Linked DNA regions of Homo sapiens: regions 1 and 3 are each linked to region 2. The links are contacts of gene promoters, found by promoter capture Hi-C in blood cells and fetal thymus (Javierre and others, 2016). All regions are on one chromosome and are shown on one strand. The core of a region is centred on a gene start or on the middle of the fragment in contact, and the rest is flanking DNA. Distances in the headings are between cores, read along the strand shown.

Region 1 (4,151 bases), core at 1,425-3,924, 480 kb after region 2:
GGGGATCTGCTTAATCCTTGTTTTTCAGAAGGCAGACAGGAGCCCAGAGTGTTTACCAGGGCTCTTTGACATTATGGTATTGATATTAACTCCAATAGCTATACTTATCAAGCACTTCGTGTATACCAGGCTCTCTACACAGTTTATTTTATTCTTTATTTTTTTTGAGATGGGATCTGGCTCTGTCACCCAGGCTGGAGTGCGTGGCATGATCTGGGCTCACTGCAACCTCACCTCCCAGGCTCAAGTGATTCTCCCACCTCAGCCTCCTGAGTAGCTGAGACTACAAGTATGCATCACTGAGCCTGGCTAATTTTTGTACTTTTTTTTTTTGTAGAGATGGGGTTTTGCTATGCTGCCCAGGCTGGTCTCAAACTCCTGGGCTCCAGTGATCCGCCTGCCTTGACCTCCCAAAGTGCTGGGATTAGAGTCGCGAGCCTCCACACCCAGCCTCTTTTCACAGTTTAGTTCCCATAATCCCCACAAGACTCTGTGATGCAGGTTCACACCATGTTACATTATGAAGAAATCGAGTCTCAGCAAGATGATGTGGCCTGCCCAGAGTCACACACCAAAGAAGTGGACAAGCTGTGATTCAAACCCAGGTTCTCTGATTCTAAATGCCAGAGGTTTACCCACGACATTATCTTACTGCCCAAGGCACTTATTATTTATTGAGCTCCTACTACGTGCTGGGCACTGGGCGAGGCTTGGAGAATACATAAATGAATAAGGCAGCCCCATTCTACGGGCAGTTTGTTATGTGTCTTCTCTACTGGGAATCTTCAGCGTGAGAAGCACGTGGTCCCAGGGTCTAGCACATTTCTTGGCACACAATGGGGCCTCAGTTAATGTTGGCTGAATAAATGAATGAATGACACCATGTTTCCTAGGAAGCAAAAGCACTTCAATCTTGTGACTATTTTTTAGTCCATAAAACGGATAGATGGTGGAGGACAGAGAACTTCCTGGTGACCTTCTGCTTGCTTCGTCAAGGCATCTATCAAGGGTCCCCATCTTTGAGTATGGTGGCTCAACCACAGTGGACCATCCCAAAGGTCCTCTCTGGTTCTGCATTGCAGACACTCTGTGCATGGTGGTGCGGGACCTCCTTCCTGGAGGTGCTTGCTTCTTCATTTACCCCAGTGTTTCTTAACATTTTGAAGTCTTGTGAGCACCAGAGAAAATGATGAATGCAAGGGGCCCTCCCTCTAAAAAACATGTTAATGCTAATATTTTGCATGCAATTTCAGGGGCTTCCTGGACCCCAAGTTAAGAATCTCTGCTATGGGGCCGGACACGATGGCTCATGTCTGTAATCCCAGCACTTTGGGAGGTTGAGGCGGGTGGATCACTTGAGGTCAGGAGTTTGAGACCAGCCTGGCCAATATGGTGAAACCCCATCTCTACTAAAAATACAAAAGAATTAGTCAGGCGTGGTGGTGGGCGCCTGTAATCCAAGCTGCTCGGGAGGCTGAGGCAGGAGAATCGCTTGAACTGGGGAGGCAGAGGTTGCGGTGAGCCAAGATCGTGCCACTGCACTTCAGCCTGGGCGTCAGACTCTGTCTCAAAAAAATAAAAAAAGAATCTCTGGGCCGGGCGCGGTGGCTCACGCCTGTAATCCCAGCACTTTGGGAGGCCGAGGCGGGTGGATCATGAGGTCAGGAGATCGAGACCATCCTGGTTAACAAGGTGAAACCCCGTCTCTACTAAAAATACAAAAAATTAGCCGGGCGCGGTGGCGGGCGCCTGTAGTCCCAGCTACTCGGGAGGCTGAGGCAGGAGAATGGCGTGAACCCGGGAAGCGGAGCTTGCAGTGAGCCGAGATTGCGCCACTGCAGTCCGCAGTCCGGCCTGGGCGACAGAGCGAGACTCCGTCTCAAAAAAAAAAAAAAAAAAAAAGAATCTCTGCTGTGGAAGATGCTTTTTTTTATTTTTCAAAATTTTTATTAGAGATGGAGGGGCGTCTCGCTATGTTGCCCAGGCTGGAGTCAAATTCCTGGGCTCAAAGGATCTTCCTGCTTCATTCAGCCTCCTGAATAGCTGGGATTACAGTGCATGCCACCATGCTTGGCTTCTCCTGTGGAAGATTCTTGAGGACCAAAAGACATCCTAAACAAGAGTCACATCTCAAACCTTTTTATTGAATTCCTGTTTTTTGTGCATCATGCTGGGTGCTAAGGGATAGTGTAGGGAAAATCTCCAGCCTTCATATCAGTCAGAAGGGAGCCCTGGGGCAGCAGGGCATCTAGTCATCAGCCTCTCAGCTCTCAAGTCACATGTGGGACTGGGATCCGGGTGTTTCCCACCTCCCCAGTAAGCCTGCAACTTTTTCTTCCATCTGGCTCCCATTTTAGAGCCTTGCATATGTTTCTTCAAGGGAAGCCTGGATAATCCTGAATTGCCTCTAATAACCACATTCTTTTTTTTTTTAATTTTTTTTTTTTTTTTTTTTTTTGAGACAGAGTCTCGCTCTCGTTGCCCAGGCTGGAGTGCGGTGGTGGGATCTTAGCTCACTGCAACCTCTGCCTCCTGGGTTCAAATGATTCTCCTGCCCCAGACTCCTGAGCAGCTGGGATTACAGGCACAAGCCACCGCCCCTGGCTAATTTTTGTATTTTTTGTAGAGACAGGGTTTCGCCATGTTGACCAGGCTGGTCTTGAACTCCTGACCTCAGGTGATCCGCCTGCCTCGGACTCCCAAAGTACTGGGATTGCAGGTGTGAGCCACCGCGTCCGGCTGTAACCACATTCTTTAATTCTTGTTTCCAACAGGTATTCCCAGGAAGAACAAAAAGCGGTTCCACTCAGGGTTCTAAGTTCGAAGTTGCCCTCATCTCAACCATCATCAACAAAACGCCAGAATGATTTTCTTCTTCTTTTCGTTAATGGTAAAAATAAGATTTTGCCATTTGTTGGGAGCATACGTATTGAGCACGTTTGGGGAGCTTGTGACTCTGGGTCACAAAATAAGACTGGGTTTTTGGAAATGTGGGTGGATAAGGTGGAGTGAGAGGGGCGGGATAAGCTCATGGCTGGCTGCAAAAGCCTATCCAGGGTTTGTGGAGCTTCTAAAATTTTCTAGATCCCTTTAAAGAAAAATGACATAAAATAGTGAATAAAAATTTCAGCTCAAAAGTGATGTTGTTTCTGACCTATTTTCCTTGTCTCTGAACAAGTTTTTTTTTTTTTGGTTTTTTTTTTTAAATAACATTTCTTACAAGATAGATCTACTGGCTATAAATTACTGATGAATTTTGCCTCAATGCAATTCTCCATTTCCCTCATTCTTTCTGCATTTATGAAATGGAAATCTATATTCTTCCAAAATGCCCCACCATTTTTTGCTTACCTGAAAGTTCTTTATTTCTCTTTCACTTTTGAAGGATAATTTTGATAGGTACAGAATTCTAGGTGTGGGGGCTTTTTCTTTCAACACTAGGTATTTTACTCCACTCTCTTCCTTCTTATGTGGTTCCTGACAAGAAGTTCAACGTAATTCTTTTTTTTTTTTTTTCCCCTGAGACAGGGTTTCACTCTGGTGCCCAAGCTGGAGCACAGTGCCTTAATCTTGACTTACTGTAGCCTCAACCTCCCAGGCTCAAGTGAGCCTTCTGCCTCAGCCTCCCGAGTAGCTGGAACCACAGGCAAACACTGGCAAGCCTTGCTAATATTTCATATTTTTTGTAGAGATGGGGTTTCTCTATGTTGCCCAGGCTGGTCTCAAACTCCTGAGCTCAAGCAGTCCTACTGCCTTGGCCTCCAAAGTGCTGGGATTATAAGTGTGAACCACTGCACCCTGCCCAGTGTAATTCTTATACTAGTGCCTCTATGAGTAGTATGTATATTTTCCTTTGGCTTCTTTCAAAGTTTTTTTTTTTTCTTTTTCTTTTTTTTTTCGAGATGGAGTCTTGCTCTGTTGCCCAGGCTGGAGTGCAGTGGCGTGATCTTGGCTCACTGCAAGCTCTGTCTCCTGGGTTTAAGCAATTCTCCTGCTTCAGCCTCCTGAGTAGCTGGGACTACAGGCACCCATCACCTCGCCCAGCTAATTTTTGTATTTTTAGTAGAGACTGTTTCACCATGTTGGCCAGGCTGGTCTCGAACTCCTGACTTCAAGTGATCAGCCCACCTTGGCCTCCCAAAGCGCTGAGA
Region 2 (4,007 bases), core at 1,292-3,791:
GTGAGCCGATACTGGGCCACTACACTCCAGCCTGGGTGATAGACTGAGACTGTCTCAAAAAAAAAAGTTTAACTAGTACCACATAGGGAGTCAGTCTTCCCACCAAGGCTAGGGATAGAGAGAGAACAGAGACTTGGCCAAGCATGGACTCCATAAGCCCTTTCTGTAATATAAGTATGCTAAATGCCACGGAAACCAGATACATTTATTAAATCTACTCTTAGCCAAGCAATAAAGATGTCTACAGAGTTCACAACCTGCAACACTTCACCAGGGAATGCTAGGTAAAGGCAACTTCAGTTTAACTGAGTACTCCATTTCAAGTGGGTAATGTCTGCTGGTTGGCAGCTATCCAGTTTGGAAAACTGTGGAAGATGCTGTTGCTACCCAGATTGTTCTGTTCAACAAGTGGGCCTGAAGCCTGAGCAGTGTAGCCAGCTGTGTGGGGAGCAGAGGTTCACTCCATTGCTTCTGCAGCCTCCTCACCTGACTCCTCCTCCTCCTCTAATAAGCAGCTTCTTGTCACAGACTTCTGGATAGCTTCCCGCTCTCCTGGAGAAGGCAGATAACAGGGATGAAAGATATCTTTGGGAGTGATTTCTTCAGCTTAAGGTCAGTCACTGCTCAGTGGGCACTGGGCTAGTGTTGCTTACCTTCATCAGTGCAGTTCTGCAACAAGATCAACAGCTGTCTCCTGTTGTACTGAATTAGGAACTTCTGACATGTTCTTATTGTACCTGGCATATGAGTTACTGTGGTCAACAGCTTGTGAAAGATCTCGACCTTACAGACTTTCAGAGGTAGGGGGAAGTGTCTTGTTAGCGGGACAGCAGCAAGACCCACCCACCAGTTTAGACTGAACTGTGAACGTGTCACCAATTGAAAATCAGTAGCCATACCACCTCACTCCTACCTCCCACATGTAATGTGTTGAAAAAGCATGGGTAACGGTGTCCTTTGTTCTCCAAGTATGTGATGAAGGGAAGAGCTGACCACACAAGCTGATAGAATTCTTTTCTGCATCGAAGTAGCACTATTCCAGTATAGGCATTGAGATATCGAACTACAACAGGAAAGAAAAATCATTTTGGAAAACTTTTGCTCTGTGTGGTGGCTCACGCCTGTAATCCCAGCACTTTGGGAGGCTGAGGCGGGCAGATCACTTTAAGTCAGGAGTTCGAGGCCAGCCTGGCCAACATGATGAAACCCCGTCTCTACTAAAAATACAAAAATTAGCTGGGTGTGGTGGTGCGCACCTGTAATTCCAGCCACTCAGGAGGCTGAGGCATGAGAATCGCCTGAACCCAGGAGGCAGAGGCAGCAATGACCCCCGATCTCGCTGCTGCACTCCAGCAGCCTGGGCAACAGCCAGACTGTCTCGAAAAAAGGAAAACTTTGGAGTAACAGAGCCTACTATGTGCCAAAAGTATGTTGTAGGCAAGTGGCACGTAGATCTATCAGCGAGTAAAAGAGAAAAGCCAAAACACCCACTGTGTTGCACACCACTCAGAACTGGTGAATGAATTTAGAATTGAAAATGCTTTCTAATTCACTAGTTAATTCAATAAATAGGAGCAGGTAGGAGGCGATCCGTTTTAATTTAGGAAAAACCCCCACAAAACCCTTGCCTGAAAAACAGGCTGTTTTACTGCATTTGGGCTCCGTAATTATTGTAGCAGTCAGCTCTCAGTCTCACCTGACTTAGGAGAGTTAAGTCTATCTGCATTTAACTCTCCAGAAGTCAATCTCAAACAAGGTTAAAGTGGGAACTAATTTAAGTGGTGTGAAAGAAGGGCCCCTCTGTCCTAGCTCATCCTGTATTTACATATATTGACAATCATGTGTTCTGTACTTTACCAACTATTTAAGGGCTTTCCCGGAGTACTTTTGACAATTTTTTTCCATATGATGTTAATGTAATCGGTCATATAATAGCTCTTACTAGGAAGTATACACAGCTTCCCTCATTTAATTCTCTACCCTATCAAATTCAATCACAACCAATTACAGAAATTACCTGTCAAGCAGGTAAAAAGAGGCTTCTAGCTCAAAGCCCCACTGCCTTCGGGCCCCTCCTTTTAGCGCTCTGCTAATTTCGGACTCTCGCTTGGGGTCCCAGGCGCTTAAAGAGATACCTTACAAAAAACGGTGCACGGGCTTGGCCACTCGTGCCCCTTCTTTCTTCCTCCGGCGCCTGCCCCCTCCACATCCCGCCATCCTCCCGGGTTCCCCTCTTCCCCCAGCGCCCTTGCACCCGCGAAGCCGATGGAGCAGGCGGCTGCGCCGAAAGTTCCGTGCACCCTGGCGATCGTGTCCCGTACGAGGCTGCTCAGAACTCGGTCATCGAGGCTTAGGCGGCAGCGGGGGTCGTCAGACACCAGTTCGCAGAGCAGGTACCTGCGGCAGGCGAGAGGAAGGTGGACACTAGCGGGGCCGCGAGGACCCAGCAAGGCACTGGGAGGGTCTGGAAGGGAATGCTTACCTGTGCTTGAACCGCACCATGGCTGCCTCCGCGCTCTCCGGTCCGGCGTGCAAACCGGATGTGAATTCTGTCCGCTGCCAATGGGAAGCTTGCTTCCGCAGCCTTTCAGCCATTCAGAGAAGGAGACAGGATATTAGGGCGGAGCTAGAAAGTTGAGAGGCCGAAGTCTGTCAGCTCTCTCAAGCCCCGCCCAACTGCGTTTGTAAGCGCGCATGCGTCCTGCGGAGGGTCACTGACTAGTTTGAGGGCTGAACCCCGGGATGGAGCGCCTTGCAGCTGTAATGGATGGTTCTGTTGCACACTGAAGTTTACAATAGTGTGTAGGATGTAGCCGCTACCCTTGGGGCCCTGGGAACCTTGCACCACAGTTATGTATGCGAGTATATTCTCTCCCCAAGGTGAACGGTGGAGCTTTTGAGGGCAAGACCCTGCACCTCACAGCCCAGGCATTGACAAACGGGAAATCGGACTTTTATTTTCAGGTTTGAGCTCAGTTTAATTCTTCCATACAGCTAAATATGCTATTGCTGTTTGGGCCTTTCAGCAATCTTAGGGAGGCGAGTGTGCCGTCTCGTTTTTTGCTCGCAGAAACAATACGTGGTCATTGTATTTTCCATTTCCGTTTACCTTTTTTTTTTGACAGAAAAGCACAAAGAAGCAAATAAATTATAATCCCAGCACTGAGAGAGAATAACTGTTGTCGTGTAGTGTGTTTTCTTCTGTCATTTTCTCCCTGCGCCAGTGGTTCTCAAAGTGCCGTCTGGGGACCACTGAGATTTCCTAAATTCACTCGATTTGGGAGTCCCCGAAGTCAAAATTACTTTCATAATAATGCTAAGATGTTACTTGTCTTTTTCATTCTCTCTGAGTGAACAGTCAAGTTTTCCAGAGGCTGCTTGACGTGATGACGTCACTGCTCTAGGAATTGTGTATTGTTTTTTAAACGTTTCTCAACTTTAATGTCCATAGTAAATATAACCCACAAAACTAAAAGCTCTTGGGCACCCTCAGTAACGTGTGTAAAGGGGTCCTGAGACAGAGAAAACAGCTTGAGAACTATGCCCTCTGTTAAATTATGTTTTTTCTTTTATTTTTAAGTATTTTAAAAAAAATGTCTTATGGGGTATTACATAAAGTACATATTCTTAAGTGTATTCATCTCAATGAATTTTTACATATGGATAGACTTCTATAACCACCTCCAAGATTAAAATAAAGAGCATTTCCAGTATCCCAGAAGGTTCCCTGAGCCCTCTTCCAGTCAAATTGCTTACTGCTATCAGCCACTATTACCACTTCTACCCTGCTAGATTAATTTTGCCTGTTCTTAAACTTTATATAAATGCAGCCAGGAGGCTGGCTGCAACCTCTGCCTCCTGAGTTCAAGCGATTCTCCTGCCTCAGCCTCCCGAGTAGCTGGGATTACAGGCACCTGCCACCACGACCAGCTAATTTTTGTATTTATTTATTTAGTTTTTTGAGACGGAGTCTCACTCTGTTGCCCAAGCTGGAGCACGATCTCAGC
Region 3 (3,856 bases), core at 1,015-3,514, 390 kb after region 2:
CAGGCTGGTCTCGAACTCCCGACCTCAGGTGATCTGCCCACCTCGGCCTCCCAAAGTGCTGGGATTACAGGCATGAGCCACCGCTCCCGGCCAAAACTTTTCTTTTTAAAATAAGTTTAGTTTTAAAAAAGTGAGTTGACAGGAGCAAAACTGCTAAGTAAATAATGCAAAAGGCAGTGGTGCTCAAATATGGGAAAATAATATGCAGGTGATACCAGAGTCTTGCCTTTGGGAAATGCAGACCCAGGTCCTTTTGTCTTTAGAGCTCACCGGCAATGCGAGGTGTTTCAGGTAGAAGGAACAGCATCAATGGGGTGTTGGCTAGTGTTTAACAGCTGGCTCTCTGAAAAAGCAAAATAAAACACACACACACCAAATCTGATGGTCTGTTTCCATGATGTGAGTACCTCCAGCTGGGCCGAACTGACATCACTGAACACAGTGGAAAGTGATGACTGCAGTTGTCTCTCCTGGGAGCTTCAACACAGTACAGGCTGACAAAAGTGGGCAGGGGGTAAGGGCAGGTGGTGGGAGTGGCCTCTACGCCAGAGAAGGGAATGGAGAGGTCAGGCTGGCTAGAGAGTGGGGTTGAGTCGTCCATGCCCTTGAATGCCAGGATGAGGGCTAAAGAGTCAAATGGAATGGGTGACTTCATATGCAGAAGTTTTTACAAGAGAAGAGAACTCAGTTTGGCCAAGAGAAGTGGGGTCGTCATGTTGGTAATCACGTAACAGTGATCGTTCAGTCATGCGGAATGCTTTCAAGGTGTTGGACACTGTTCATTTTTTATTTTTAGTTTTTGAGGCAGGGTCTCACTCTGTCGCCCAGGCTGGAGTGCAGTGGTGCAATCTTGGCTCACTGCAACCTCTGTCTCCTGGGTTCAAGCGATTCTTCTGCCTCAGCCTCCCTAGTAGCTCGGATTACAGTTGTTTGCCACCACGCCCGGCTAATTTTTGTATTTTTAGTAGAAATGAGGTTTCGCCATGTTGGCCAGACTGGTCTCGAACTCCTGACCTCAAATGATCCACCTGCCTCGGCCTCCCAAAGTGCTGGGATTGCAGGTGTGATCCACCACACCTGGCCGCTTGCAGGGTGTTGGACACTGTGGATATCACCTCATTCATTCTCCTAACAACCCAAGAGAAGAGGAACTGAGGCAAAGAGAAGTTAAGCAAGTTGCCCAAGGCCATACGGCTAGTAAACGGCAGAACGAGGCTCAAACCCAGGCACTCTGGCTCTAGAGTGTGTGTTCCTAACCACTGTGCTCTAGCACCTCGGAACCTTAGTCTCTTCATCTGCAAAATCAGCACTGAGGTGACAAGGCCAACGAGCAGAGGGTTGGAGTTACCCAGAACAACAACAACAACAAAAGTAATAGTAACACATATTTGGTCAAGGCTTAGATTCTGGCGTCATGGGGATCTGGGTTCAAATCCTAATTCTGCCTTAGCCGATTAGGGTCCCTATCCTCTTAAAGCCTTGGTTTCCTTATCTGTAAAATGGGGATATCATGAAGCTGTTAGATGTTAAATGAGAAAATGAATGAGAAAATTGCATGTACTGTCCATAAAGTTGAAAAGATAATAGGGGTGGGAAGGAGAACAGTCCGAGTTTGAATGCAGGTGGGCCCTGGGGCATTGTCTGGACTGAAGGACAAGGGTCAGTTGAATTGCCAAAGAGCTCTGAGACTGGCTGAAGGGACACTCGTCTTGTGCTAGCTGCTAAGACCAAGGGGAAGCCTGTGCCTCGCCCGAATTTTAGTCTTGCAAACAGCTGCTCACCCAGTAGGAGAGAATTGTGATAAAACTCATAGCCACCATTTCTTGAATATCTACTATGCCCCGGGACACAGCAGACTATTTTAGAGAATTTGCGAAGGAAACACAGTGACATCTGTTGGACACCTTGCAAACTACCAGCTCAGGATAGTTAAATTTGAATGTTAGATGGAGGGAACTTCCTTTCCACAATGACATGATTTTGTAAAGCTGAGTGTATGGCAGTTGTCATGATTAAAAGCAAGTGCCATGCAGAAGTTATTGTGTAACAGGAAATGAGATTAGATAGCGTCCAATCTAATCTCAAGGTTTGAGTAGCTGTGGACAGCCCAACAGGCACAGGCCTCCCGTTAGTACATCCATACGAGAAGTTAAGAATGAGTGAAAATAGTTTTTTTTTTTTTAATTTATGTGCATTATTTTTTTCAAGCAGCTACCTTGTTAGGACATACTTAATAGTTATCTTGGCCTACCTACTGCACTTACTAAACAACTGTTCACTTTTTAATTTTTAATTTTCAGATTTTTTTGAGACGGATTGTTACTCTATCGCCCAGGCTGGAGTGCAGTGGCGTGATCTCTGCTCACTGCAACCTCCGCCTCCCGGGTTCAAGCTATTCTCCTGCCTCAGCCTCCTGAGTATCTGGGACTACAGGTGTGCGCCACCACATCCAGCTAATTTTTGTATTTTTAGTAGAGATGGGGTTTTACCATGTTGGCCAGGCTGATCTGGAACTCCTGACCTCAGGTGATCCACCTGCCTCGGTCTCCCAAAGCGCTGGGATTACAGGTATGAGCTACCATGTCCGGCTGTTCCTTTTTTTTTTTTTCTTTTTCTTTTTTTTTTGAGACGGAGTTTCTCTCTGTCACCCAGGCTGGAGTGCAGTGTCATGATCTCAGCTCACTGCAACCTCTGCCTTCTGGGTTCAAGTGATTCTCCTGCCTCAGCCTTCCGACTAGCTGGGATTATAGGTGCCCACTGACAAGCCTGGCTAATTTTTGTATTTTTAGTAGAGACGGGTTTTCACCATGTTGGCCAGGCTGGTCTCGAACTCCTGACCTCAAGTGATCCACCCACTTCGGTCTCCCAAAGTGCTGGGATGACAGGCATGAGCCACTGCGCCCAGCCACTGTTCGCTTTTTTTCTCAGTGGTTCTCTAGTCCATTGCCTTAACCACTCACCATGACTACAGCTCTTATTTGCAGTGACTCTCAAGAATGCAAATGCAAATGCCATTCCTGACCTCGAGTTAATTCAGCTTTGTCCCCTGAGCATGGGGGAAAGGCAGGCTGGGGGCTGGAACTTTCTGCTTGTGTACCTATCTCTTTAGACTCTGGAGGCTCCTCCCCAATCTCTGTCATTCCCTCTCCAACCAAATCCACCTGCCGTCCCAGACTCAAATGCTCAGCCACCTAACTGCCTGAGGACCCAGCAGTTAATGAGTTTACATGCTGGGGGCAGGAGTCAGGGCCAACACTCCTTGGTTCCTCTGGCTCCCTGGAAAGGGAAAGTCACCAAGAGGCAGCTGCAGGCAGCAAAGAGAATAAGCAGGAGAACCTCAAAGCCACAAAGGGACAGCACACAGCATCTTCCCTGTTTAGCCTGGACTTGAGAATGCTGTCCCCAGCAGTAAGCTGCTCAACCTCAAAGCAACTTGCACGGGGGTTTACAAAAAAATGCACTTGGCCGGGCACGGTGGCTCACGCCTATAATCCCAACAGTTTGGGAGGCCGAGGTGGGTGGATCTTTTGAGGCCAGGAGTTTGAGACCAGCCTGGCAAACATGGTGAAACCCTGTCTCTACCAAAAATACAAAAATTAGCCAGGCATGGTGGTGTGTGCCTGTAGTCCCAGCTACTCAGGAGGCTAAGGTAGGAGGATTGCTCGAACCCAGGAGGCAGAGGTTACAGTGAGCTGAGATCGCACCACTGTACTCCAGCCTGGGTGACAAAGTGAGGCTCTGTCTCAAAAATAAAAATAAAACATAAATGCACTGGAGGAAAGAGGGTACCACTCTCCTTAAGGCGGGGGCTGCCAACTTGTCCTGCACAGCCCGTCCGCCTGCCTCAGGTGGACTT

The links. Contacts are between HindIII fragments. The CHiCAGO score rates a contact against its expected background, and 5 or more counts as called.
Region 1: a fragment that was not itself captured here is called in contact with the fragment with the promoter of POP5 in region 2 in 4 of 17 cell types (total B cells, naive CD4 T cells, naive B cells and 1 more); the score reaches 9.4 in total B cells.
Region 3: a contact is called between the fragment with the promoter of HNF1A-AS1 here and the fragment with the promoter of POP5 in region 2, in 6 of 17 cell types (M0 macrophages, total B cells, naive B cells and 3 more). The highest score is 10.8, in M0 macrophages.

Annotation. Positions count from the first base shown.
Region 1 is chr12:121,062,096-121,066,246 of GRCh38, forward strand. The region is part of intron 3 of LOC105378258 (a long non-coding RNA gene); the gene reads right to left. Among named protein-coding and RNA genes, the nearest start is that of OASL, 25 kb to the left of the region's middle. The HindIII fragment of the contact is 6,035 bases long and covers 1-4,151 here.
Region 2 is chr12:120,578,861-120,582,867 of GRCh38, forward strand. POP5 (POP5 ribonuclease P/MRP subunit) reads right to left here and starts at 2,542. Exons shown (of 5, transcript NM_015918.4): 1 at 2,483-2,542; 2 at 2,255-2,397; 3 at 914-1,063; 4 at 654-737; 5 at 1-552. The coding sequence starts at 2,502. The coding sequence ends at 458. The HindIII fragment of the contact is 2,825 bases long and covers 1-2,568 here.
Region 3 is chr12:120,970,028-120,973,883 of GRCh38, forward strand. It overlaps HNF1A-AS1 (HNF1A antisense RNA 1), which reads right to left and starts at 2,265. Exons shown (of 1, transcript NR_024345.1): 1 at 1-2,265. RefSeq lists an enhancer at 2,858-3,385. The HindIII fragment of the contact is 11,110 bases long and covers 1-3,856 here.